Regions from separate parts of the Homo sapiens genome. Here regions 2, 3 and 4 are each linked to region 1. Evidence: promoter capture Hi-C in 16 types of primary human blood cells and fetal thymus (Javierre and others, 2016). All regions are on one chromosome and are shown on one strand. Each heading gives the region's core, a stretch centred on a gene start or on the middle of the fragment in contact. The rest is flanking DNA. Distances are from core to core; before and after follow the strand shown.

Region 1 (5,476 bases), core at 1,537-4,036:
AACCAGCCTTGCAGCCCCATTGCAAGGGTTCAATACCAACTACACATGAAGAAAGGAGAAAAGCAACAAGTAATGCTCATATCAAATCCAAAATGGAATGTCGAAATTGCAGTTTTTTAAGCCTAGATTAAGCAACTTTAAGAAACAGTAAGGAAGAGAGATTAATCAAATAAGGAGAAGAGATATGAATAGAAGCCAACTGAGAATAAGCAACTGAATGCAAGAGCTCTTTCTTGCTTCAGAAAAACAGCCGTCAATCACTCCACACTGCAGAAAACTCTCATGGGTTGGAGGCCTCCAAGGGGAAAGTGAATGTGTCCTCCATGGGGGTGCAGAATTGGCATCAAGGACTGAATGCATCCATCACATGCTGTCTTAGTTCCTGTAGCCCTGGTTGGCCTTGTGAGGATATGGAAGAAAACCACTTCTGTTGTCCTCCCTCAGGGCAGGTTGGCCTTTTTATTCGTGGCACTGAACACAGTTTGCACCTGTATTTTTTTTTTTTTTTGAGATGGAGTCTCGCTCTGTCACCCAGGCTGGAGTGCAGTGGCTCGATCTCGGCTCACTGCAAGCTCCGCCTCCTGGGCTCACGCCATTCTCCTGCCTCAGCCTCCCGAGTAGCTGGGACTACAGGTGCCCACCACCACGACTGGCTAATTTTTTGTATTTTTTTTTTCAGTAGAGACGGGGTTTCACTGTGTTAGCCAGGATGGTCTCGAACTTCTGACCTTGTGATCTGCCCGCCTCGGCCTCCCAAAGTGCCAGGATTACAGGCGTGAGCCACCGTGCCCGGCCCTGCACCTGTATTTTTAAGTGTATGTCTGTTTTTTCTTTTACTTCCCTCATTAAGCTCAACATTTTTGTTGTGGTTGTTCACTATTATATCCCCAGCCTCCAACACATATCCCTTGGAGGCCATCTATTGTAATACGCTCATTTAACAAAGAAAGACAGGCTTAACGTGTACAAAAGAGTTTCCTGAATCACATGGTGAAAAGCAGGTCCAATACCAGCTCCAGTCTCCTGGGGCCCTGTCCTAGGTTTATTTCTGTTCCATGTCTACATCATTCACTATTTGTGAGGCAGTGTTGAGAAAAATCTCCAGGTGAGCACAGATGCTAAAAGAGAATCGGGCTATAGAGACTGCTTGTTGCCCCAAAAGCCATTCTCCTTTTCTCACACATAATAATTCTGAGTCTTAGATCAGAAAAAGGCCCATTTCTCAGCTTCCCTTTATGCTAATGGCACCATGTAACCATATGTGATGGTCAAGGGGAGGTGAGAGAAAGTGATATAACCAGCTACTCCTGTACTCTTTCTTTTTTTCTCTTCTCTCTGGCTGGAATGCTGATGTGTTTGGGAGCCATGTAGGACCATGAGGGTAAGGGTACCGCTTTAGGGATGGGGAAATAGAAATTGGAAGGAGCCTTGATGTTTGATGTCTTAGAGTTATCAGCCCAAGTCTAGTAAACATTCTTTTTGATTATCACTATAATAGGTTTCTTTTTAGAGAAGCCAAAATCATAAACTTACATTACACATACCTGTGTACTTATAGCTGGGAGTACCTATGTACTCCCAATCCCTTTTTTTCCCAACCACATTCCATTCTCAAGGCATTTATGATGATAGTGAGAGACTAGTCCAAAGAAGTGACACTAGATGGGAAGGTCAAACAATTAAAAAAAAGGGAGGTGATAGAATGAGAAATTGATTCAATCACATTAATAGAGAAAGTCTCAGGAAAGACAAACTGAGAAGAGGCTATGGGAAGAAATGGACTTTCCTATTTGCTATTAGGATCTCATGTCCATCCTTCTCTACCTGCCTTTGCATCCTGGGAGGAGACATGTCTGTGCCTCGTCAATGGGCTGTCTTTCACTCAGGCTCCAAAGGGTACACATTGACAGGAGATTGGAGGGTGACTTTTTTTTTCAGCCAAAGGGACACATTGACAGTAGATTGGGGGATGATTTTTTAAAAATTTCCTGGCTCTCTCCCTGCGCCCTGAAGGGCTGTGAGTTGGCAGTGGCAGTGTTTTTCTACCTAAGGACATAGCCCTGCCTGGTGGCCCTTTCCTGTAGCCACAGCTATAGTTACAGTTACAGTTACCGCTACAGCACATTCTGAGTTCTCAGAACTTCTCTTTCTCCTTATCACTTCAGACCTAGCAACGGTAACAGCCCTCCACTATCACTTGCCTTTGAGGGCTTCATCATTCCTTAATCCCTGTTCACGCCGTTGTAAACAGTCTCTTCACTAAACTCCTCTAAACTACCCCTTTAGAGTGTGTGATGTGTGTTTTCTGCTGGGACAATGACAGATATGAAGGAAAAACCTTTTGAATAACAAGAAAATCAGTGCAACCTGAGGTTTTAAATAACAATTTAGCTTAGGGAAGTAATGACTTCATTCTAGCCTGCCCCTAAATTAAAATCAGCAAAATCTTTCTCTCCATAGTTTCAGATTTGAATGGTCGAAGAGAAGGGGAGAATATTGGTAGATAGAAGAGAAGTGGGACGAACCTGCTTGACCCCATTCGGATCTCCCAGCATCTAAGCTGCCAGCATCCAAAGCTTCCTCAAAGGAGCTTCCTGTCTTCTTTTCCTAATGAATTCATCAGGATGTGGACTAAGGTAAAAACCAAAACTGCCTTTGAAAGAAGATGGTTCTTGAACAAACTCTTACCTTAACACCCTTCTTTCTACTGGAGTTGGTGAGTTGAGAAGTGCTTTCCTGGGACTGGCAAACAGCTGAGGATGGGGAGATGCCTGCAGGATCTGGAGTGAAACCTGATGACTGAGTGAAGCTTATCAAGATGCTCAACAACCCTGTGATTTCCTGTACAGAGGGTGCTGGAAAATAAGAGTATGACACAGGAAACCACATGAGATGTTTCTCAGCATTTGCCCTGACTCCAATCACTTATCTTGGTTTCTCCCCTACCCTCTCCGGCCCCACTCCCTGCAAGGAATCACCGTCCTGAAGTCTTTCATTGCCCACAATGAGCATCCAGGAAGCAGACCAATCAAGCGACGTGAGCTTTCATAGCTAAAGAATAGTCTGCCCTCTTCTGCTTGGCATTCAAGGCCCTGGCTTACTTGACCTTTCAAAATCAGGTTTATTTCAAATGACACTAAGGTGTATAAAATGAAATGCAAAGTCTCTCGAAGTCTCATTCCCCAAAAGCAACCACTGCATACAGTTTCCATTCTTTTTTTTAAAAAAGCTTTGCGTAATAAAACAACATTTCTATTTTTGATTTATCGATGTTAACAACTAGATATATTGAGTCTCCTTATAAAATATAGGGGACTTAGCACATCACATGCACCATCTGTCACGTTTCTCCCTCTACATCATGATATTTATTAGCTAGATTATTTTTAGATCATCTAGAGCCAACCAATATTTTCAGCCTTATCTCCTATGACTTCCTTTCATGTGCCTATGCTGCAGCCAAATTGAGTTATAAGTAACAATTATGAAGCATTTAAGACAATCAGAAGAAATTATTCACTCATTTATTCATTCATTCAACACTGTTTATTGTTTGCCTATGATATGTCAGGTACCGTTCCAGGCAATGAAGACACAATGATGAACACCATACAAGATCATGCCCCTTTGCATTCCAGAGCAGCTGGGTGACCTCAGACAGGGAACATGTGTTGATTGAGGCGAGTTCTGAGACTCAGCATTTTCTTGTATTATACTTTGGTGCAGTGGGTAAACCATGCATTTGTCCCCAGAAATCTGCTTTCCTCATGAGCAGCAGCAGGACCTTAGAAAGCTTTAACTTCTGTTACTGTCTAACCTACTGTGCTCTATTATTTGATTTTGATTCTGTTTCCCTCCAACAAATGAAACACTTATTATTGTTTTAAATAGTCAGTGTTTATTCAGATTTATCCACATAATCACCAATGCTTTTGCTCATCCTCCCATTTTACATCTCATATCTTCCATTTCTCAAAACACATTCTTCAGGAGTTCCTTCTGTGAGAGTCTCTGCATGGTAAATGCCTCCTTTTATCTATCTGAAAATGTCATTGTTTCACCCTCGTCTTCTAAAGATGGTTTTTCCAGGCATGGCATTGTAGGGTGATAGTTTCTTTCTTCCAGCACATTGAAGATCCATGTTCTGACTGCCAGGGTTACTGTTGCGGCCATCAGTCAGGTTGCCATTTGCTTGTGGTGATCTGCCTTTTTTTCCTCTAAGAGCTTTTATTTTTCTCTGCTATGATACATTCTCACCAAATTGTATCTGGTGACTCTTTTTCAAATCATGTTTGGGATTTGTGGAGTTTCCTAGATTTTAAAATTATCATCATTTAACATTTTTAAACAATTTAATGCTATAATCTCTTTAAATATTAACATAACGGTGAAGAACACAAGACCAGGCTACTTGGCATTTCTCCTATGGGACCTTAGCCAGATTTTGTAACTCTGTTATGTTTGTTTCCTCATCAGTAAAATGGGGATAACATTATTAATCTATAGGTTTGCTGTGAAGATTAATAATTTAATGTATATAAATGATTTACAATAGGAGCACATAGTAAGTACTATAAAATTATTAGCTCTCATTATCACTTTTAGTATTATCTCTTTCTGGAAGTCTAATTCAACATATGTTAGCCCTCTTCTTCTATCATCCTTATTTCTTTAACCTTTTCCTTATGTCTCGTCTCTGTCTCTGAGGCTGCTTTCTGGGTAATTTCTTCAGATGTATCTTCCAGTTAACTAGATTCTTTCCATTGTGTCTAATCATCTGTTTAATCTATCCACTGAAGTTTAAATCCAATTTTTATATTACTAATTTCTAGAAGTTCTATTTTATTTTTTTAAAATTATACTTTAAGTTATGCGATACATGGGCAGAACGTGCAGGTTTGTTACCTACGTATACACATGCCGTGGTGGTTTGCTGCATCCATCAACCCGTCATCTACATTAGGTATTTCTCCTAGTGCTATCCCTCTCCTAGCTCCCCACCCCCTGAGAGGCCCCAGTGTGTGATGTTCCCCTCCCTGTATCCATGTGTTCTCATTGTTCAACTCCCACATATGAGTGAGAACATGCAGTGTTTGGTTTTCTGTTCCTGTGTTAGTTTGCTGAGAATGATGGTTTCCAGCTTCATCCACGTCCCTGCAAAGAACATAAACTCATCCTTTTCTTACGGCTGCATAGAATTCCATGGTGTATATGTACCACATTTTCTTTATCCAGTCTATCATTGATGGGCATTTGGGTTGGTTCCAGGTCTTTGCTATTGTTAATAGTGCTGCAATAAACGTATGTGTGCATGTGTCTTTATAGTAGAATGATTTATAATCTCTTGGGTATATACCCAGTAGTGGGATTGCTGAGACAAATGGTATTTCTGGTTCTAGATCCTTGAGGAATCGCCACACTGTCTTCCACAATGGTTGAACTAATTTGCACTCCCACCAACCGTGTAAAAGCGTTC
Region 2 (5,476 bases), core at 1,442-3,941, 510 kb after region 1:
TGATAGACCACATTCTTCCTTGTCTTTAGGTCTTTCCATAGGCTATTCTGCAATCTGGAACTCATTTCCTCACTTTACCCTCTCTTTCAAAAAGAAAATCCTCCAGGAACCTACTCACAGTCATGCTCAGGTTAAAGTTCCTCCTTCCGAGGGGTCTCCCATCACTGACCTTCTCCCCAGGCTGCATACACCCTGCCTCATGCCCAGTCAGGGGCTCTGTGTACCCTCGCATCCTAACACCGATCACACTATAGTGTAACTTCATATTTCATATTCTGTCTCCCCCTGGCTGTGCACTCTCTGAGGGCAGGTGCTTGTTCACAGCTGTGATCCTGCAGCTGATGCAGCGCCTGGCTCACAGTAGGTGCTCGGTAAATGTTGAATGGATGAAACATGAATGAGCAAGTCAGAGAACCAGTGCCTGTGCCCATTTGCCCCTGTTGTTCCCTTGGCCTGGCACATTCTTCTCTAGGCTTTGGCACAAGCCACAGCTCACATTCTTCCTTTGAGTATCACTCTGTGAAGCTTAGGAGGCCACCAGGGCTGTCTTTGGGGGCTCAGAGATCTCTAGGCTCAGGCAAGGATGCCCAGTAAAAATAGTTTTTGTAGAAATGAGCTCCAGTACTGAGACCCTGAGAGAGGCTCTAGACGTGAGAGACTTGGGCTGTGGAATCAATGTGAAGCCTGGGAGGATTCACACTCGAGGAAGGACATGGAGCAGGCAGAGTTAGAGGTGAGGGTGTGTCTGGAGCCCAGTTCTGGATTGTGATTGTGAGTTCTGGATGTCCAAGCTGTACAGATGGATCTTTACAGTGGCAAAAGCCAACTTGACCCAGAAGTCCAGAGCATAAGAGGCTCTCTCCTGGAGCACTGTTTGTGTCAGACCCTGCTAAGCACTTCACAGACTTGATCTCATTGACTTCTTATGAAAGCACCTCCCAGGTAGGTCTAGTCCCGGTTCTTTAGTCCCCCATTGAAGGAAGGGGAGCAAAGATGGTGAGCACTTGCCCAAGGTCTTAGTTACATAAGGCTGAGCCAGGTCTCAGAACCCAAGTCTGTGCTGCTAACGTCACCTCCCCATTCACGTTGGCCACACTCTGAGAATGCAAAGGTGAGGTCTCTCTAATTCTAATCTAAGTGGATCTGATTAGGAGTTATTGGGCCAAAGTCATTAACTTACATTTCAGATGTACTGCCCTGGGTCTCCTACGCATCTTCTATGTGACAGGCAGCATTGGAAGAAAGCAAGGCTCTATCTCACCCAGCATATGCTTTTCAGGTGCTGAGCACAGAATGCTTGGGCCCAGCACTTCAGAGAAGTCAAATGGATCCAGCTTCTGCATGGTCATGAAACTTATTATCCTGGGTGAGGGAATGGTAAATGATTTTTCTTCTTGTTCTGTACTTTTTAAATTTATAAAAATAAAGTGTTTATAGTCATGGAAAAAAGTTTTAAATAATAAAGAAATTAGCAAATACACCTGCAAGATGTCAAGGAGCTGTATCCCTCCCTGCCCTTGTTCATGCATTTCTCTTAGTCTGGAATGTCCTTCCCTTCCTTGTCAATGCATTAATGTCTTACTCATTTTGCAGGGCTCAGCTCAAATGCAGCCTCTTCTTGATCCCATCTCAAGCTGGTTCCTTGTCTATTGTCTCTCTTTCTCACTGGAATGTAAACCCCATGAGGGCAAACGACCTTGTCTGTCTTTTCACTGTTTTATCCCAATATCTAAAAGAGTGTCTAGCATGTAAGAAAAACCCATAAAATTTTTTTAGTGAATAAATGAATATTCCCACATTTGATTCCTAATATCCATCTCGGTCTGTCCCATCCTGCCTTCTGCCTCAAACTATGGCAGCTGTTTCTCTCTCTCTCTCTATTCTCTGCTGGCCTACTTGAAAAACTTATTTCTGTGGCCCCCATAGCACAGAGCTTGGTACATAATAGACCTCAGTAAATGAACGTTTGCTGTCAACTTCAAGGCAAGGAATCAGGATGCAAAGGGCTACATCTCACCCCCTTCTCTGGGGAATGAGCTGCGTTGTCAGGAACTGATTACAATGTGATGCTCCCTGGGGAGGGAGAACTGCCCCTAACCACCCTGGATGGGGAGTTATGAGATGAAATGGCTCATGGAGGTTGTCCCACTGCCCCAGAGTTGCTGCTTTATAAGGAAGGAAAGTACAAAAGCACAACAAAGTCTACTAACGCTAAATTTTGAAAGGTAAAGATGACTTTCCCCTTGTATTCAACCAGGTGGCTGTCTCACCTGAGCCTTCCTCCCAGGCAGCAGAATTACTCCTTGTAGCTATCAGGGGGAACATCTGTATTTCTTCCATCCTTCCCTTCAAATTTTGGGGCCAGCATTTTGTTTGTGGAATCACTACCTATCACTACCTACATTATTGGAGATGAGGGGATAATGGGCAACAGGAGGCAGATCTGGAGAGGCTGAATGATAGGCATCTTGGGCTCCGGAGCTGAAGACACAGATTCAAACCCTGCCTCTGCTCTGCATGGCTGTGTGTCATTAGGCAGGTAACTTAAATGCCCTGACCCTTAGTCTCTAAGATGGGAATGGTGATGATGATGGAATTCACCCAGAGGATGTCAAGAAGATTAGATGTAAAACACTTAACACAAAACTTGTAGGATAAAACCTAGAGGTAAATTTTCATGACCTTGGATTTGGCAATGGATTGTTAGATACAACATCAAAACCATCAGCAACAGCAGGTAAAATGGATAAGTTGGACTTTATCAAAATTAAAAACTTTTCTACACCAAATGACAGCTTCAGACTTGGAGAAAATATTTGCAAATCATATATCTGGTAAGTCTAGTATTCAGAATATATCAAAAGCTCAATGTTAAAAAAGACCTGATTAAAATAAATAAACCAATTAAAAAGTGAGCAAAGGACTTGAATAGACATTTCTCCAAAGAAGATATACAAATAGCCCAGAAGCACATGGAAAGATGCTAACATCATTAGTCATTAGGGACAAACAAGTCAAAACCGCCATGAAATACCACTTCACACACGCTAGGATGGCTACAATTTTTAAAAAATTGAAAATAACAAGTGTTTCTGAGGACATGGGGAAATTAGAACCTTCCTATAGTGCTGGTGGGAATGTAAAATGGTGCAGCCACTGCAGAAAACAGTTGATGGTATTTCAAAAAGTTAAACATGGAATTACCATATGACCCAGGAATTTTACTTCTAGGCGTACACCAAAAAAGAATTGAGAACAAGTGTTTAAAAAATGTGGTCATGAATGTTCATAGCAGCAGTGTTCATTATAGCCAAAAAGTGGAAACAACCCAAATGTCTATCAACAGATTAATAGATAAACAAAGTATGGTATATCCATACAATGGAATATTATTCAGCAATAAAAAGAAGTGAAGTACTGACAAATGCCACAACATGGATGAACTCTGAAAACATTATGTTAAGTGAAAGAAGCCAGGCATAAGGTCATATATTATATGATTTCATTTCTATGAACTATCCAGAATAGGCAAATCCATGAGAGACAAAAGTAGGTTAGTTGTTGCCAGGGGCAAAGGAGAGGGCAGGAATGGCAACTGACTCCTTAATGGACACAGGCTTCCTTTTGGGATGATGAAAATGTCTTGGAACCACTTAGAAGTGAAGGCTACGCAGCATTATGAAAGTACTAAGTGTCACTGAATTGTACACTTTAGAAAACTTTTCGGCTAGGCACAGTGCCAGCCTGTAATCCCAGCACTTTGGAGGCCAAGGTGGGTGGATCACCTGATGTCAGGAGTTCAAGACCAGCCTGGCCACATAGTGAAACCCCATCTGTACTAAAAATATAAGAATTAGCCAGGAGTGTTGGCATGTGCCTGAAATCCCAGCTACTCGGGAGGCTGAGGCAGGAGAACTGCTTGAACCCAGGAGGTGGAGGTTGCAGTGAGCTGAGATTGCACCACTGCACTCCAGCCTGGGCAACAAGAGCGAGACTCCATCTCAAAAAAGAAAAAAAAAAAAGAAAAGTTTAATTTTATGTTATGTCGATTTTACTTTCATTAAAAAGAAACGTGTAGCTCAGAAAAGCAGTCAGTAAATGGTGCCTTTACTATTACTTATTATGACTATATCCCCTTCCCACTGGAAATCAGCTTTTCCCAAAGGCTGAATGATAAGATATGTTAGGAAGTCCCAAAATAGGAAGTGCAGAGATGGGAGGATGAAGAAGGAGAGGGGAGACTGTGGCAGGTTTGGTCTTTCCCAACCCTCTAAGCACTCACTGTGTTAGGGACATCCTGTGGATGAGTAGACTGGCAGGTAGAACCATCTGCCCCCTGCTACCTGGGGCAGGACCACAGGACAACACTGGCAGACACAGGGGTGCAGATGGGAAGATGCTCTTTTGGCCCAAGCCATGGACTTAGGTAGTATGGCCTGCTCCTCCCACTGCCTGGCAACACAGTCAGCTTGCCCAGGCTGCTGCCTTCCGGATGTCAGTTGAACACTCCTGACAATATGCTCCATGGCTTAGGTCAGGGTCCAGGGTCCGTGTCGCTGAACTCTAAGATCAGGGACTGGAAGAGGCCTTAAAGCCCTCCGTCCCTTCTTATTTGGCAGACGGGGAAACTGAGACTTGGGGATATGGCATCAGCTTGCCATATTCCTTGCTCAGCCACCCTTCTCTGCAATAGAGATTGGAATTTTGTCATCCCTTTGCTGTAGTACTCTATCTGCAACCTTTCGGCTTCAATATTTTATATCTTGACAAAAGGACTTGACCTGGGGCAAAAGATTAAACAGGAAGCTCTGGAGTGTTCATTTTGGGGAAACAGCATGGCTTTTGGGGAAGAGCAAGAAAGCTTGGACAGCCCAGGGCAACCCCGTCTTGTTAGTAATAATAATGACTTCCATGTTTTTAAGGTAGTTACATGGTGGTCAGCACATAGATGCCAGAACCAGTCTGTCTGAGTTTGAACTCCAACTCTCCCACTTATGAGCTGCATGACTTTGATTAAAAGGCTTAATCTCTCTATGCCTCATTTTCTTCATCTGTAAAATGGGAATCATAATGGTGTATATAAAAGCTTCCAGAATTTTGCCCAGCACATGGTAGGGACTTGATAAATGACAGGGATTATAATTCCTATTGCTGATATTAATTAGTATAATTACCTGGGGAAACCTATATGAATATGCTGAAGTTTGCCAAGGACCGCTTTCCAGAAACAACAAACCGCAGAACCAACAGGGTCAACAGCATGCCTTTTGAAAAACTGGCCACAAATTGCATTTTTACACAATCTAATTTTCTCATTAACCTCTTGTTTAGGAAATGCTTTGTCTTTGAAATCATGTGAGGACTCCGTCTTGGCTCGGCAGGCACTCCTCTGGCTTTCAGGCATGAGCTTGCTGTTTCCTTTGCCTAGAACATTCTTACCTCCCACCTCCACCCAGACATCTGTGTGGCTACCTTC
Region 3 (5,476 bases), core at 1,696-4,195, 470 kb after region 1:
TTCAAATCACTCAGTGACCGGTGAAGAGACCAGCGGGCCTCCTGCCCTACATAGGTGTTCTAACTTCTGAATTAGTTGGGTTCCAGTCAGAAAGATAATTTAGAGTGGAACACAAAGCGTCATTTTTCTTTACAGAAGGAAAACAAAACATCTTTTTTACTACCATTGACCTCCTCCTCTAGGGGTGTGGGAGGTTGCTGGAAGGTCATGGGATATTTCGAATGGAAAAATCAGCATTTGTCTGTCTCCCTTCCCCCAGTGGAAACCATCGGCCCAACAAAGCACACTGGTGGCAGCTGGAGGGTCAGAAGTCCCCTGAGCAAGTCACCATTGTCACCACTGGAAGTGGTGAGGAAGATCACTTGCAGGCAGGACCATAGCCTGGCATTAGCATTCTGGTGACCCCAGCAAAGAGGCGGTGTGGGGACTGCCTCTGTGTGGGGTGGGGTGTGATTGTTTCTTAGGAGGTAGCTGTAGTTACAGGACAGCCTTTGCAAGCTCCTACCACTGTGTGTATCCACAGGCAGGCAGGGTGGCATGAAGCTCAAAGCAGCACCCTGGGCATCACGAGGCAGGGACTGAGCTCTGTCAGGTTAGATGGTAATAATGCAAGGTAGCATTTGCTTAGAATTGGCTATGCCCTATGTGCTTTACACGCATATCATGCACACCAGAAGGGCTCACAGCAATTGTATGAAATAGATGTGGTCATTATTTCCTCTTCATGCCTGAGAACACTGAAGCTCAGAGGGGTTAAATGGCATGCCCAGGGTCACCCTGCTGATGGATGGTATCACGTGGACTTGAATCCAAGTCTTCCCACCCCCAAAGCATGGACACCGCTGTGCTTCTGTCTGAGTTCACCTGCCACGGAAATGTGCTGTGGTTTTGTGACAAGCTCCAGAGCTCCGTGGCTAAATGTAGAGGTTGGAACAACAGTAATAAAGTAATAAACGATAAAAAACCAAGCACCTGCTATGTGTCATGGACTGTGCAGGCACTGTATGCACATTAACTCAAAACAGCCCTGAAAGGTCGGCCTAATTCTTCCAATTATACAGATTAGAAACAGGCTGAGAGTTTAAATGAATCTGCCAAGTCCCACAGCCACGAAGTAGTATATTCAGAATTTGAACTCAGGTTAGTTTGACTTCAAAGTCATTGCTCCCTTGAAAGCATTATCCTGTGAAAACTGATTCACTCAACAAATATTTATATATACTTCATTTACCAACTAGTATTTATTTATTAAATATCGGTATGTATTTCAACAAATATTTATAATATTCATCCAACAAAGATTACTACTATTTCTATGTATTTATGTATTTATTGCCTGGCATAGAGTAGGTATTGAAGAAATATATAGACTATGCTAGAGAGTAGGGATTAGGCACTAAACATGACAGATAAAATCTTTGCCTTCATGGGGCTCACATTCTGGTAGGGGAAACAGAAGATAGACATGGAAAGAAAGAAATATATGTAATAGCACCTAATTATAAGTTACTTTAAAAATGAACCAGAGTAAGGAGGCAGGGAGTGATTTGGGCAGGGAGCTAAGGCTGTTTTAATCACAGGCTCACTCTGGCTGCTGCTCTGAGCCAAGACCGTAGGTAGTCAAAGAAGCAGGGGGCCAGTTAGGAGGCAATGGAGATAATCTAGGTAAGAAACAAGAAGTTCTTGTCTCCAGATAATGGTAGCAGATTGGTAGGAAATGATTGGACTCAGAATTTATTTTTAAGTGAGCCAGCAAAATTTGTTGACAGATTGGATGCAGATTACAAGAGAAAGAAAGGAGTCTATGGTAACTCCAAGATTTTGGCCTGAACAACTGGAGGGATGGGATTGCCAGTTGCTGAGACAGGGGAGAATGAAAGGTTGGGAATTCAAATGGACTCATTTGTGTTTGAGATGTCTATTACTAGTCCAAGGGACATGTTGAAAAGCCATTGTGATTTTTGAGTTTGGAATTCAAGGGTGTGTTCTAGGGGTAAATATGTCCAATATTTAATCAAACCAAAGAGGCCACTGACTATAAGACCATTATTTTATTTACTACCAAGAAAAAGCACTGTCCATTAAGCTAGGATACACTGCAACTTCAGAGATATTAAAATGTGGAAAAAATGTGTGGTTTAGAGTCAATGGGATTTAGTAAGTTTGGGAGTTTCCAGTATATGGATGGTATTAACAGCTGTGAGAGTTGAGGAAATCACCAAGGGAGTGATAGAGGATAAAGAGAAAGAAAAAAAATTAGGTTGGTGCAAAAGTAATTGTGGTGTTTGCCATTAAAAGCAATGGAAACTAATAGAAGTATAAAGGACTGAGCACTAGCATGGCAAATTTTTGAGCAGGGAGATTCATGGCCCATTTCGAGCCCAGTGGAAAGTTGGGCAGTGAAAGATCTTTTCTGGAATAGGAGCCACTGTGGAGCTGCTCTGCAGGGCTTTGGTCTGGGGACTCAGGACTCACAGATGGCCAGAATTGTAACACAGGGCATCACCCAGCACTAGCTGTGTGGCATTGCCCAGAAAGGCCAAGCTTTTCAGCTCGCCTGGTTCACTGCTGGACTGTTTTCTCATCAGTAATATGCAAGTATAATGTCTACTCTATCATCTCAAAACCCAGAAAAAAAGTCCATCTGTTTCTTTCTCTGGGCCTCAACATCTGCCCCTATAAAATGAAGAGTCTGGACAGGGTGATTTCTAATTCCTCTTCCAGCTCAGGCATAACAATACTACTAGCTGCAGTACTTTGAACATCTACTAGGTGATTTATATTAATATAATCACTAATCATCATAAACGGCCATGTATTATGATTCCCATTTCACTAATGAGGCAACTGAGGCCAAAAAGGGAGCAGGCTACTCACGGTGGTGGAGCCAGGCTGCAGACTAGAGTATTTCAGGCCATTGGCTTAAAGCCCCCTGCCTCCCTGCTGGGATTGATGCATAATTCTTGAGCTAAACTTAGTAGCATGTGGCTGGAGCCCAAGGGCAACCCCTTCTTATGACACGAGGCAACTTCAAAGGGTTGTCCCACATACAAGGGGAAGATAGTTTGTCTCTGGGGACCCTCTACTTTCATGGGAATGGAGTGTTCCTGCAAAAAGGTCAACAGAAAGGAAGGCAACTGATGTTGGAGTGTAGAGGTAACTCATCCCCAATCCTGTGGACTCTCGGTTTAGTGCTCTTTGACCATATTATTTGCTAGTCAAGGACCAGTGTCCACACATAGTGGTACTGAATGGGATTCCTTTGGTCAGGTTGTTGTGAGAACGTTTCCTGAGCTAGAGGTGGAAGAAGGGGAAAAGTGGGTTGGAGTGAGTTTCAGTGATGGGAGAAAGCTTGTTGTCAGTCTAGGACTAATCAAGGAGCTGAGTAGAGTCAGATGCATCAACATTTCAACCAGGAATATAGTGTAGACCGGGGTTTCTTAACCTCAGCACAATTGACGTTTGGAGCTAGATATATCTTTGTGATGGAGGACTGTCCTGGGTATTGTGGGCTATTTAGCAGCATCCTCGGCCTCTACCTACTAGATGCCATTAGCGACAACTCCCCATCCCCAGCTGAGATGACCAAAAATATCTGCAGTCATTGTGAAATGTTCTTGGGGTCAAAATTATATCCACCCCCTTCTTCAAGGCTGACAAACATTGGTGTAAACAATTCTCTCTCCCTCCTACAAAGGCCATCAGCTGACCATGTCCACACATGTCCTGGGCATGTGTGTTCCTGGGCATTTTCCTCCCTCTGGCATCCTCCTGCAGGGCTGGGTGAAACCCCAATGAAACCAGGTTCTCCCTGTCTTTTCAGTCATTGTCCTCCTGGAAATATCACATACTGAAACCTTCTCTGAGACGTGCACTTTCTCTACCCCCACCCCCTCTGTTTCTGTCTGTCTGTCTCTCTCTCTCTCCCCTCTGGGAACTATCTTTTTTTTTTTTTTTTTTGAGACGGAGTCTCGCTCTGTCGCCCAGGCTGGAGTGCAGTGGCGGGATCTCGGCTCACTGCAAGCTCCGCCTCCCGGGTTCACGCCATTCTCCTGCCTCAGCCTCCCAAGTAGCTGGGACTACAGGCGCCCGCCACTACGCCCGGCTAATTTTTTGTATTTTTAGTAGAGACGGGGTTTCACCGTTTTAGCCGGGATGGTCTCGATCTCCTGACCTCGTGATCCGCCCGCCTCGGCCTCCCAAAGTGCTGGGATTACAGGCGTGAGCCACCGCGCCCGGCCTCTGGGAACTATCTTATCCACAGACACACTGAATTGTTTTATCTCAGGACATTTGCACTTGTCACCCCATGCCACCCTTGTGGCTCCTCTTCATTTGGGTCTCCATTTTTACAGCCCCATGTCATAGGCCACCTTGCTTATCATTCCAGTTACTCCTTACTGCATCTCTCTGCTTAGTGCCTGCAGAGTGTTGGCCAACCCCTGGTAGCATCGTGTTTATTTGCTTATTTGTTTATTGCTTGTCTCCCCCATTAGACTGTGGGATCTCAGAGGGCACGGACCTGATCTAGTGGGACCTGATCCAGTTTGTCCCCTGCTGTACCCACAGTGCAGACTTCAGTGCATGGTTGTAATCATGGGTCCAACAGCTTTGGTGAACACATGTTGAGCACCTACTCAACAGCACCAGGCTCTGTGCTAGGAGCTGAGTTGAATAGCACAGTCTCTGCTTCCTACGAGCTCAGTGTCTCATGGAAGGAGAGCAATAAAAGAGGTGAGAGAGAGAGAAGTGAAGGAGCACAGAGAAAGGAACAAGTGAACCTGTCTTGCAGATGAGGAAAGATCTTCAGTTTGAGGAAAGGAGGATCACACAGTATCTGCAGATGCAAGAAGATACAGGGGATCATGGATGGCTCCCAGGGAGCAGGGAAGGAGCAATGGCATGGAACTTGGAGCAGCAGGGCTCCCTGTGCAATGTTTGAAGCAGCAGAAAATGAGGGAGGTGGAGTAGAGGAGGAAAACTGAGAGACCTTGCATTCCATGCCAGGAAACAGACCCTAACCTATAGCAAACAGGACCCAAGAGGCAATGTAGACTAGTAGTTAAGATGTAAGCTTTGAAGTTAATTTCAGACCTTGGTTCAAATCTTCACTCTGCCACTTGTGCACTGCATGACTGGCCAGCAATTTCACATCTCTTAACTTCAGTTTTATCATTTTGGAAATGTGGTTAATATTTCCATTGTAGGGCTGTTTTGAGTGCAAAATAAGTCCTTAGCACAGTGCCTGGGACATAATAAGTGCTTAATAAATCATTGCTATTCCTGTTGATGTGGTTAACAAGGAGCCAGTAGAGATTTTCCAAGCAAATGAAGGACATGATAGATTTGCATTTTAGCAAGATTGTGCAGGCAGGGCTGTGGAGAGTGGCTTGGCAGTGGCTCTGAGGAGATCAGGTGAGACAGGAACCAGGGAAAACAGGAAGCTGCTGGAATGGAAAGAGAGGCAGAGAAGGGG
Region 4 (5,476 bases), core at 1,414-3,913, 450 kb after region 1:
AGGTGGGGGCCATTCCTACAGCAGTTGGACAGTAGAGAACCACAAATCACATTTACAGCAAAGCAGGTGGCCAATTTTCACATGCAGCCTAAATGAAGTTCCACCACACCCTGGGCTGAGTGGGAAGGCTGCCCTTCCTATATGTATGTTAGGCTAGCTTCTCTAGAAGATAGAGCCTGGGGCAAAAATTGAAAGTGAGATGTTTCATTTGGAAGATGCAAATCCATGGCAGCAAAGGTGAGACACAAGGAAGCGAGGCAAAGAAGGATGCAAAGCCACACTAAGTGGTGTGTTTCCTTGATGGCTATTATGTCACAAACAGCCATGGAGACACCCAGAAGGTCACTGCACAAGACCTTTCAGCATGACACGTGGGATTCAGCTGGATGAGCGGCAAGGCAGACTGTCATGAAGCAGTCCATGGAGAGAGGAAGAAGGAATGTATGTGTCCTGCTCCCTCTCAACTCCTATTTTCCACTGGTCAAAGTTTTCCTAGTGGGGGTTAACTCTTCTGCACTTCAGGATTGTATCACCCAGTCCTAATGGCAGCCTCTCAGGAGACCAGTTCCCACCCCATGCTGGAGAGTGTTTTCATCCAAATCTGGAAGAGGTAAGAGGAGCCAGAAACTATAGGCATGGGGCTAGGAAGGGCCCATACTCCAGGACTTGTAGCCGATCTGACCCAAGTGGCAGAACTGCCTGAGCTCAAGTCAGGCAGGGCAGCAGCCTAGGCAGAGTGAGTGGCAGAATGTTCTGGAAGCAGGTGGCATCAAGAGCCTTTGAGAAGGCTCATCAGATTTGTGTTTGATGCACTGTGTGACCTTGGACAAGTCACTGAATCTCTCTGAGCCTCAATGTCCTCAACTGTGAAATGGGGCTGATCATACCTATCTATCTCCCAGATCAGAAATAATATTGGTCCCAGTTGAGTGTTGTGCCTGGCACCTAGCAGGCACTCAATACAGAGGAGCCATATTTGTAGAGTTAGGAGTTCTGACTCAGTTCTGGTGGCATTAGCATAGCTGGATTTCCTGAGGAAAGGCCATTGAGTTTTGGTCAGGTAGAGCTCTTGAGCTAGAGTGTGGGGTGACTTGGTAGCTCTGAAAGGAAGGAGAAAAGAAAGAGAAAATGCCACCCAGAAAGGAGCTTCATAGTATCTGTCCATTGCTTTGTCCTCACACAAAACTGGCTATATAATTTGAGGGGCTCACTGATAAATGGACATGTGGAGCCCCTTGTTCAAAAATCATTAAGAATTTCAAGATGGGGCCAGCAGAGTATTGAATCAAGCACAGGGCCCTCCTGAGCATGAGGCCCTGTGTGATTGCAGAGGTCACACACCCACAATGCCTGCCTTACACTTACACGTTGCCAGAGTGCAGTATTTGGCGCCAGAGCTTGGCAATGTTCTATTCTCCCCAGCAACCTCTCTGCCTAAATGTGCCTGGCTTGATGGTGTCTTGGAAACATCCAAGGAAGGAAAGGGATGTTGGAGCTGATTGAAAATACCTCTACCTGAATTCCAAGTGGTGTCATGAACAAGTACATACATAATATAGCAGTTAAGTGCAAATTTGGAATCTGTATGTATGTATAAAGTTGCTGTTGACATGGTTCTAGTAGTTACAGGAGTGTTGCCATGGTGACTGGCAGGGCCAGCTGTTGTTTCATTTCCCCCAAAGAATTGTATGGTAATAATAGACCCCTGGAGAGTCCTCCTGGGACAAGGAATGATGTTAAAAATCTGCCAATTAATGAACAGGTAGTATAAACTGACTTCATCCTCATTTGTTGTAATTAACAGGATTTTACAGGATTTTGATGAGAAGTGGCTAATTTGGTATAGAAATGTGGAGGGTAGACTACTTTTGGAGCCTGGGTTTGAATCTGCACTGTGTCACTAAATAGCTGCATCACTTAATTTCTCTGAGCCTGTCTCCTTATTTAGAAAATGGGGATCATTAAACCAAAGTTGGAGGAACATTGAAAATAAAGGATGTGAAATGCTTAGCTCAGTTTCTGGAGCATTATAGACAGATACTACATGGTTTCTATGATGCCGATGATATTAATGAAATCATCATCATTATAATCATCATAAAGCTTCCATTTATTGAAGGCTTCCACCTATATGTCCCTATGTTGTGTACATTATCTCATTTAATCTTTATAACAACCCTATCAGTGAGTCCATTGTTATCCTCAAGTTATAGATCAGGACACGGAGGTTCAGAGATTTGCCTGAGGTCACACAGCTAGTAAATGACAATGTCAGGATTCAAATTCAGGCAGTCTAACTCCAGAGCCCAGGCTTTTAACCCTTATACACAGTGCCCCTGGGATGAGGATTAATAAATACGTGAAGCCTAAGAGACATGCATTTCTGGATTTCAGTTGGCTCTGAAAGGTTGGTCCTTGATGAAATGGAAAGTATGTTTCCTTTTATAGCAAGGGCAGTGGTGGGGTGGGATGAAGGAGGGAGATTGTTTTAATAAGCACATGCTGATGGGGGCTGCTCTGTGGACCAGCCTTGCTCTGTCTCAGGGGTTCAGCCTTCTCTTCCTGAGGCTGTCCTACTGATTCCTCTGGAGTTGCAGCAACTCCTACCCTGACCTGATCCATGGGTCAGAATCAGGGTCAGGATGAGTCAAGGCTGACTCATTGACTATCCACTCTAATGGCCCTTCCTCCCCAGGGCTCTATGGATGCTGACCTTTGTCCTCTTCCAAACTAAAGAAAAACAAATAAGCATACAAGCACAAAACCAGCCCCTTGGACTTCCTGCTAATCCTATTTGGTTATTTAAGTGTGGCAGGTACCTTCTCTCCTCAGGGCCTTTGCATATGTTTCTACTCCTTCCTCCTGGGCTTCTCTTCGCAGTTCTCATTCTCAGTCCCATTTACTGTTGGGCGAGTTCCTAATCACCTTTCATACCTGCATGTAAATGTTACCTCTTCAGGGAAGCCTTCCCTGATTATCCTCCACTCCAGTCTCTAAGTTCCCCGTCCTGTACTCCAACAGCCACCTGTCTGCCTTTTGTATCACTTAATCAGAATTTTAATTAAATGATTATGAGTATAATGATTTAAGATTTATCTCTCTCAATAAATGTTTTATTCACTATTGAATCCCCAAATGCCTGTAACAGTGGCTGACTCTGAATTTGTTAAATAAATGAACTAGCAAGTAAAACCTCCGAAATCTCAACATCTGCCCTGGGGGAAAAGCTTATGCTTTGCAAGGTGAGCCCTTCATAAATTTCCTAGCTTCCTTAATATTGTGGTCCTACTAAGTGTTCAGGAGAAAGCAAACAAAACAAAATTATTACATAACTGGGTAGTTTGAGAAGGAAGAGCAGAAAGTAAAATTATTAAGCATCTACTACATTTCAGGGCTTGTGTTTCTCATTGTATCCTCAAATACCCTGCAATATAGAAGAAATTATTTGCATGTGACAAATGAGGAAACAGAAAAAGGACAGAGCATTAGGACTTGTCAGTCCCTTACTCTGGACTTCAGTGTCCTCTTCTGTAAAATGGGGTTGGGGATGAGTGAGCGAGGCAACCCTTAAGGTCTGTGCCAACTCATTCACTTTCCTTTGGAGGTTTCGTCCCCTATTGTTTATTAGTGTGTTTGTGTGTGTGGGTGTGTGTGTCTGTGTGTGCATGCGCATGCAAGTGCACAAAATCATCTTGGACAGGAACTACGTCATTAGCATGAGTGCTGGGGCCCCAAACCCTCAAAGGAGGCACCTTGGATAATTACATTATGGAGTTTGAGCAAGGGTGTGTGTGTCCTGTGCACCCAGGGAAGGCTGGAATGTCTTGCTCAGCTTTTACTGCATTCCATAGAAAGGATTATAAAGGGATTAGATGCAAATGCACTGAAGATTTGGCTGATTTGGGCTTGTATTCCCGCACCGATGGTTGGGATATTTATTCAACCCGATATTGCAAGATGCTTTTCCTAGGTGAGAGCAGGCACTGCGATAAATGATAATGCAATCAGCAGCAGCAGGCAAGATGAGAAGATAATTGTTTGCCCCACCTTCTCTTTGCTGGTTCTTTAGATTTCATCAATGTTTCCCCCCTAAAGCCTTAGAATCACTGCCCCTAAAACTCTAAGGAGAAAATGAAATTTTATTCTAATGCACTGGGCAGTTGAGCCCCTGACATTTGCTAGAATTGCTTTAATCTCACCCAAAACATCCAACTGGAAAGAAATAGGAAAAAAAAAATGTTATGAGCTGGGTTTAGCAGGCAGGGACCCACCTTCAAGGATGGGTCTGAGGTCTTTTCTCATTCCTGGGGTCATTCTTTTACTGGGCATTAGCATTTTTCCAGGAGGATCTATCAAATATTTCAGTTCTTTGACTTTTGCAGGTGCAAACAGACTGTTCGATGAGATTGGAAAACTAGAAGCTATTATGCAAGTTGGAGAAATACCAGAAGAACCTTTTAAATGGAAAACAGGGACCAAGAGAGATTGTATAGAGGAGAACGTGAGAGGAAGAAACACAGGAGTGGTTGTGGATCTGTGAGGGGATGAGGGAAACTGTCTTAGGAGATCCAGTGATAAATCCATAGCTCTCTGTTCTAAGCACATTAAGTGTGTGAAGTCATTAACCCTCACAGTTACACTATGAGTTTGCTACTATTTTTATGTCTATTTTAAACATGAGGAAACTGGGGTCCAGAGAGGTTGTGGATGCTGTCCTGAAACCTACATGAGAGCCAGTTCTCCATACTGATTTCTTGTCTCCTTCTCTGATAACAGCAGTAATCATTACAACCATGACAGCATTAATCACAGTGGCTGCAATTCATTGTTTATCATTAGCCAGGCTCTGTGCTGAGCCCTTATGTCGGGCGATCCTAGCAGATGCCTCACAAGGGTGTAAATATTTTTATTCCAAATTGTACAGGTGAGGAAACAGGTGAGAGGAGGTTAATTACGTTGGCAGAGATGGCATAACAGAGCCAGCGCTTTACCCAGGACTGCCCCAGCCCGAAGTCCGTTGGTCATTGCATGGTGCCTGTGTATTGTGGCAGGGCCAGCACTTTTCGGGCAACAGGTTACCCAGCCCAGGGCTGATCATTTTGTTTTTTTCATCTAGGGACACTGGACTGGAAAGTAGTCAGCTCTTCTCTTCTTGCTTCTCATGGCTGGGTCTCTTGAGTTATCCTTGGCAGCTGTGTAGTAGGCACACAGACCAACGAGCACAGAGGAATAGAGGCAAGGAAGGGGAGGACTTAGGGTTATGAGGTTTTCACTTTTATTTATAAACTCAAAAAGGGCTGGAGTTACACGATATTTATTTGCATACAGCTTCGTGATGTACAATGTGTGTTCACATGCTCCATGTTTTTTGATCCCCACGTAAGGCTGTGAGATAGACTTGATTTATTAGTCTTGGTTTTTAGGCTGAGGAACAAGTCCAGGAGGTTCAAGGGACTCATCAGGATCACACAGCCAG

The links. The method cuts DNA at HindIII sites, captures the fragments that hold promoters and counts their contacts. A CHiCAGO score of 5 or more calls a contact.
Region 2: a fragment that was not itself captured here is called in contact with the fragment with the promoter of MRGPRX2 in region 1 in 1 of 17 cell types (erythroblasts); the score reaches 6.5 in erythroblasts.
Region 3: a contact is called between a fragment that was not itself captured here and the fragment with the promoter of MRGPRX2 in region 1, in 6 of 17 cell types (M1 macrophages, megakaryocytes, M0 macrophages and 3 more). The highest score is 6.7, in M1 macrophages.
Region 4: a fragment that was not itself captured here is called in contact with the fragment with the promoter of MRGPRX2 in region 1 in 2 of 17 cell types (megakaryocytes and M2 macrophages); the score reaches 7.5 in megakaryocytes.

Annotation. Positions count from the first base shown.
Region 1 is chr11:19,057,931-19,063,406 of GRCh38, forward strand. MRGPRX2 (MAS related GPR family member X2) reads right to left here and starts at 2,787. Exons shown (of 2, transcript NM_054030.4): 1 at 2,689-2,787. The HindIII fragment of the contact is 233 bases long and covers 2,575-2,807 here.
Region 2 is chr11:19,567,704-19,573,179 of GRCh38, forward strand. It overlaps a transcript of NAV2 not described here. Among named protein-coding and RNA genes, the nearest start is that of MIR4486, 4.9 kb to the right of the region's middle. The HindIII fragment of the contact is 4,336 bases long and covers 524-4,859 here.
Region 3 is chr11:19,529,765-19,535,240 of GRCh38, forward strand. It overlaps a transcript of NAV2 not described here. Among named protein-coding and RNA genes, the nearest start is that of NAV2-AS4, 8.4 kb to the left of the region's middle. The HindIII fragment of the contact is 807 bases long and covers 2,543-3,349 here.
Region 4 is chr11:19,505,636-19,511,111 of GRCh38, forward strand. It overlaps NAV2-AS5 (NAV2 antisense RNA 5), which reads right to left and starts at 1,594. Exons shown (of 3, transcript NR_049725.1): 1 at 1-1,594. It overlaps NAV2-AS4 (NAV2 antisense RNA 4), which reads right to left. Exons shown (of 4, transcript NR_033989.1): 4 at 5,258-5,476. It also overlaps a transcript of NAV2 not described here. The HindIII fragment of the contact is 1,124 bases long and covers 2,102-3,225 here.